2 separate regions of the Homo sapiens genome follow, and region 1 is linked to region 2. Evidence: promoter capture Hi-C in human tissues and cell types (Jung and others, 2019). All regions are on one chromosome and are shown on one strand. The core of a region is centred on a gene start or on the middle of the fragment in contact, and the rest is flanking DNA. Distances in the headings are between cores, read along the strand shown.

Region 1 (3,085 bases), core at 551-3,050, 61 kb before region 2:
GGTACTGGTACCAAAACAGAGATATAGAGCAATGGAACAGAACAGGGCCCTCAGAAATAATGCCGCATATCTACAACTATCTGATCTTTGACAAACCTGACAAAAACAAGCAATGGGGAAAGGATTCCCTATTTAATAAATGGTGCTGGGAAAACTGGCTAGCCATATGTAGAAAGCTGAAACTGGATCCCTTCCTTACACCTTATACAAAAATTAATTCAAGATGGATTAAAGACTTAAACGTTAGACCTAAAACCATAAAAACCCGAGAGAAAACCTAGGCAATACCATTCAGGACATAGGCATGGGCAAGGACTTCCTGTCTAAAACACCAAAAGCAATGGCAACAAAAGCCAAAATTGACAAATGGGATCTAATGAAACTAAAGAGCTTCTGCACAGCAAAATAAACTACCATCAGAGTGAACAGGCAACCTACAGACTGGGAGAAAATTTTTGCAATCTACTCATCTGACAAAGGGCTAATATCTAGAATCTACAATGAACTCAAACAAATTTACAAGAAAAAAACAAACAAACCCATCAAAAAGTGGGCAAAGGATATGAACAGACACTTCTCAAAAGAAGACATTTATGCAGCCAAAAGACACATGAAAAAATGCTCATCATCACTGGCCATCAGAGAAATGCAAATCAAAAGCACAATGAGATACCATCTCACACCAGTTAGAATGGCGATCATTAAAAAGTCAGGACACAACAGGTGCTGGAGAGGATGTGGAGAAATAGGAACACTTTTACACTGTTGGTGGGACTGTAAACTAGTTCAACCATTGTGGAAGTCAGTGTGGCGATTCCTCAAGGATCTAGAACTAGAAATACCATTTGACCCAGCCATCCCATTACTGGATATACCCAAAGGATTATAAATCATGCTGCTATAAAGACACATGCACACGTATGTTTATTGCGGCACTATTCACAATAGCAAAGACTTGGAACCAACCCAAATGTCCAACAATGACAGCTGGATTAAGAAAATGTGGCACATATACACCATGGAATACTATGCAGCCATAAAAAATGATGAGTTCATGTCCTTTGTAGGGACATGGATGAAATTGGAAATCATCATTCTCAGTAAACTATCGCAAGGACAAAAAAACCAAACACCGCATGTTCCCACTCATAGGTGGGAATTGAACAATGAGAACACATGGACACAGGAAGGGGAACATCGCACACCGGGACCTTTTGTGGGGTGGGGGGAGGTGGGGAGGGATAGCATTAGGAGATATACCTAATGTTAAATGACGAGTTAATGGGTGCAGCACACCAGCATGGCACATGTATACATATGTAACAAACCTGCACGTTGTGCACATGTACCATAAAACTTAAAATATAATAAAAAAAATAATAAATAAATAAATAAGTACTGAAGGATGGGGCTGCCTTGCCCTCCCCAGCAAAAAAAAAAAAAAAAAAAAAAAAGTTAATTCTTCCGTGATTTTTGTGCCGTTTATGTTTTTAGCTTTTACATTTCACATGTAAATTATTTGAAATTTGTCTTGGCATAAAATTCAGATTTGACTTTATTTTCTAGATGACTGTCCACTTGTTCAAACAATATTTATTGAATGATTCTCTATGGAGTGTATTTATGGTAATAGCCAAATGTAAGGAATTGTCGACGGGGAGAAAAGTGAAGTTTAATCAAGATTGTCAGTGAAGATATGCTTGGCTAAGCCATTTCTTTTTGTCCTCTTCTCCCTCCTTTCCTTTCTTCTGCTTTCTTCCCCTCTCATTCTCTTCTGTTCTTTGTTTTTCTCTTTTTGTCGTATTCATATGTAACTTGATTCATTCTCTTTGGGGATAGAAACATTTTTAAATTTTCTTACGAATTAAAAAATTCTTTAAATTTGTAAAAAAAAAAAAAGTTCCCTCTGAGTAGGGACTACATGTGACTTGTTCAGCATTGTTATTCCAGTGCCTGGCACATAGTCAGTACTATAGAAATATTTGGGCAGGTTTCTTGAATGTGCCACACTTGTTCTGTTTTTCCTTCTGCCTCGAATTCTCTTTTTCTTTAATTCTTTGCATAGCCAGTTTCTTCTTATTTCAGTCTCAACCCAAGCTCCACCTTTTCAGGAAGGCCTTTCCTCATCATAAAGTCTATGATTCCTCTCCCCTAACCTGTCTTTCACATCATCTGGTTTTACATTATTTATTATATATGCCCTGAGATTATCCAGTTCAATTTTTTGTTTATTTATTTATTTTCTATCCTCAAACGCAATGTAAGCTCCATGAGAGCAGAGACGGTCTTAATCAAAGCTTCATTTCCAACCCCCTCAGCAGTGCCTGACACATTACAGTTTCAATAAATATACACTGATTGAGTGGATGAATGAAGGAAAGTCAAGCACTAGAGATTACACTCACTTGTATGCTTTGCCTTATTTAATCCCTACAAAAGCCTTATGAAGTAAGCACTATCATACTATTCATTCCATATTACATAGGAGAAAACTAAGTCTTAGGGGGGCAATGTAATTTGCCCAAAATCACATTGTTCATAACTTGAGAAGCTGAAATTCAAATCAAGATATGCCTGTTTTACGGATGACAGTTCATTTTCTGCATCTTAAAATATCATTTTATTTCTTTTTTTATTATACTTTAAGTTCTAGGGTACATGTGCACGACATGCAGGTTTGTTACATATTTTATTTCTTATGATTCGAGTTTGGATATCACAGCTGGTCTCCAAGCAGAAAAAGAGAGTTCCTACTCTCCTCCCCTTAACCCCATTAACTTTATCCTCAGAGTTACAGGCGGAACAGCTGGACATCTTGCAACCTTAGGTAGGGGTAGGTCTTGCCTTGACAGATTCACTACACACAAGGAAGCAGGAGTGTGTACATTATTTTAGGCTTCCAGCTTCGAAAGAGAGAGCCAAAAGGGGCTGGCCTGGGCACGCACTAGGACCTTTTCCCCAAACTTCACTAATCAGAGTGGTTTTCTCTTCTGAAGGGGTTGGGGCCAGAGGAAGGGAGAGAAGGAGGGGTCTGAGGAGAAGGGCAGAACTGTTTTCCTACTACTTCCAAGCTGGCCAAAGTTCC
Region 2 (3,232 bases), core at 295-2,794:
AGTGAAGAACTGGAGGGGAATGAAGGGGCAGTGGCCACGGCAGGGGGTGACTGAACAAGTAAGGAACCCTGGAGATGCAGGTGTATAGGGGAGCAGGGAGACAATATGTGAGAAATACAGTAAGTGGAGGGCACAAGTCTTACCGAATTTTGAAGACAGCAAAGCAGATGCTGAGATGAAAGTCTCTTTTAGGTTGGAGTTAGAGCCAATGTGGGTTGGATTAAAGGCGATTAGACATATAGAGAAAAGGTGACTCATGAAAAGCAATATTAGTTCAAGCCATGCATAATGGGATTAACTGTGAATATACCAGAAGGGAAATGGGAATGATTCCAAGAGTTTGAACCAAGGGAGTCAGAATGTTGGGGAGGATTGATGTATGTCTTTTGGCTGATGGCCAACTATTGCTATTAAAACAAGAAACCCACATCAATCTCTTCTTCACAAATATAGAAACAGGTTAAATCCTGAGCTGGGACATTTAACCCACATGCAGGGTTTGGCAGTGCATGGGGAGAGTGAGATGATGGTAGCATAATGAAAAATATAAGAAAGCTATGTGCATTTGCCTCTACCATGCACATCTATACACCCAGGTTCCTTGGGTATTTGGCAAGGAAAGACACTAGGTCAAAATCATTTTTCTAAATATTTAGTAGTCATAGAATATAGAGTAAAAATGTAAGGAAATAAAGAACTAGTCCCAATGTGTAGTGGATGGTTTGGGGATTAGACAGAAACACATAGGTGGCTGGGAGCCTGAGGCACTAACGATAGCTGTGTTACCATCATCGCTGACAATGGAAAACATAAGCACTTGAGCCATGTTCAGGGACTATTTACAAAGAAAAGGAGTGTGCATGTTCTTCTTGCAAAGAGCATGTACACATACACACATAAACACACATTTCCCCTTTTCATAAAATTGGAACACAAGGCAAACACAGCTTCTCATCCTCAGTCCATTTCTGATTCTGCTGCAGTGATATAAAGTCACTGGTTTTACTAACACTGCAGTTGGCACAAGGTCCTGTGGTTCTAGGCAGAGGCTAGGGGTGAAGGTGGGAATGGTGGTGTAGAGAGGAAAGCTGTGGCCTGGTACTGATATTTCTACTGCTTCATGCAGCTGGCAGAGTAAAAGTTGCCATTGCTCACAAACACAGCATGTGTCAGAGGTTTGGGCTCTTCTCACTCTACAGCTGAAAGGGATTGTCTGTTTAGAGATGAGGTAACTGAGACCCTTTAAAGTTAACTTGCTTGTCTAAGGCTGCTGTGCACAAGCCTTGCCAAATTTTGAGTGGGATTCTAGTGAGTTTTCCCCAATAGCAGGGAAAAACTATCTTTTACTAGTTACAAGGTGCTTCTCAGAAAGTGACTCACCTTTGGTGGGCTACTGGGAGCAGGCGAGCAGGTGTGAGGGAGGTTTCCTGCACCGCTCTTGTCAGTTGCAGAATGCGCTTCACTGGAGTCAACAGACGCTGCATCTCCAGAGGAGCAAGCAGAAACCCAGCAGTTCAGAAACCCAGCAGAAACCTTGAAAGAGATGCCCAGTGGTGCCCGGCAGGACTTTATAAAGCCCCAAGACTCCTGCCTCCCTAAGCCCCGCCTCTGCTCACCGTGGCTCAGTCTGCTTCTAAAACTGGGTCAAAGGGCTCACTCAGAACACGGGCGAGTCAAAGACAAACAGCATCTCTCCAACATGTACATAGCTGCCCTGCTCCTGAGCATGTGTGGGAATGGCTGGGCATTGTTCCTCCTACTCCATCAGGCTCTGTGGCAGCCTTGATTCTGCCCAGCTACCTAAGCAGGAGGTTATGATGTTCCTTGTTGTATCACATCCCAAGGTAACCCTATGTGTCTTGTTTTAGACCCTGGCTCCTTATCTGTATTACTCTCACTGGGTGTTCCACACTCCTCTCTGTGGTGTTAGTTGTTATTATTTTAATGTGCTATGCATTATAAGAAACATCTTTCTAAACCAAAGGGAAACTCTTTTAATAGTAGCTTTTCAAGGAGTTGGGAGTGAGTGTTGGCACATAGGCCAAGGGCTGGGCGTTAGAGTATGTGGAACCTACTATATTTCTCCTGTTTATTGTCCACCCTTTTACTTGTACAGCTCTACACAATTTCCAAGTGGGATGAAATTAGTGTTGTAGTAAAGGGACAGGAGCCTCAAAGAGGTGACAGTTTGAAGCTCAATCTCCTAAGGAGGAAAGGTTTACTTTATAGATGAGGTCAGAGTTATGTATAAAGGAGTCATTTTCCCAAAGACCTGCAGCTAGGAAGTTGCAGAATGAGAACTCAACCATGTCTTTTGACTCCAGATTCTGGTCCTTCTGCTTTGCTCTTCTACTACTCAATAAAAAGGCTCCTGCCATCTGATTTTCCAAATGAATGTCTCCCTCCACTCCTCCCACAGCACCAATCTTCCTCTACCTTTTGTGAGTCATGCATTCACTCCTTAGTTCATTCAGTCATCCCCATCACCAACCCCCTGTCTAATATGAGTGTGTAGGGAACACAGAAAAGAGCTGGAGTGGTTCCTGCTTTAGGAGGATATAGTTGACTTCATGTTCCTACAGACAGAGAATGTCTAGGTGCCCCCAGCAGTCCAGGATATCTAGGTCTTCCATCTTATCTTTAAATTCTTATCTCCATATATCTTGGTGTGTTGGTGTTCTAACTCAATCTCCTACCTTGCTGTGTCACCTCCTGCTCTTACACTCAGCCTTTTGCAAAGTTCTGTCGTCAGTGAAATTCTTCATTTCCAATCTCTTCTCTGAAATACCTGTTGCTTCTTGTCAATCCAATGCACTTTAAATGCTTACAACAAGGCCTGTGTCCTCTTTGCTTCATACTATCTCTTCCAGGGTATTTCTCCTCTTCCTCCTCTCAAAACCCCTGCTGTCTTAAAGCACATGCTACAGTCTGTGCCACCCAGTGCCCTTATTCTTGCAGTCAACTAACTGTCATGTTCCACTGTCCCTCATTGATAAAATTTAAGCACATAGATCACTACTTTCCTCTCCACCATCAGTCATCTCAATGGATGTGAGATGTCAATCTCCACATAAGATAATTCACCTGCCCTAGCCTCTCACTGAAGCTCCCACAGCCATGTCCGTGTTCATGGACATGACTTTAGCCTCCCACTCCACAGTCATAATGTGGACTTTGTTATTACAGTGTCTATGCCACCTCCAACATTTTAGTTTCATGCATTCCAATTTCC

What was found. Contacts are between HindIII fragments. The study calls those that stand out against the background at their distance.
Region 1: a contact is called between a fragment that was not itself captured here and the fragment with the promoter of HMGCS2 in region 2, in 2 of the 25 tissues and cell types used here (bladder and neural progenitor cells).

What each region holds. Positions count from the first base shown.
Region 1 is chr1:119,705,774-119,708,858 of GRCh38, forward strand. All of the region lies in intron 1 of LOC105378937 (a long non-coding RNA gene), which reads right to left. Among named protein-coding and RNA genes, the nearest start is that of PHGDH, 4.6 kb to the right of the region's middle. The HindIII fragment of the contact is 3,951 bases long and covers 1-3,085 here.
Region 2 is chr1:119,767,361-119,770,592 of GRCh38, forward strand. HMGCS2 (3-hydroxy-3-methylglutaryl-CoA synthase 2) reads right to left here and starts at 1,545. Exons shown (of 10, transcript NM_005518.4): 1 at 1,381-1,545. The coding sequence starts at 1,484. RefSeq lists a silencer at 1,126-1,420. The HindIII fragment of the contact is 5,763 bases long and covers 1-3,232 here.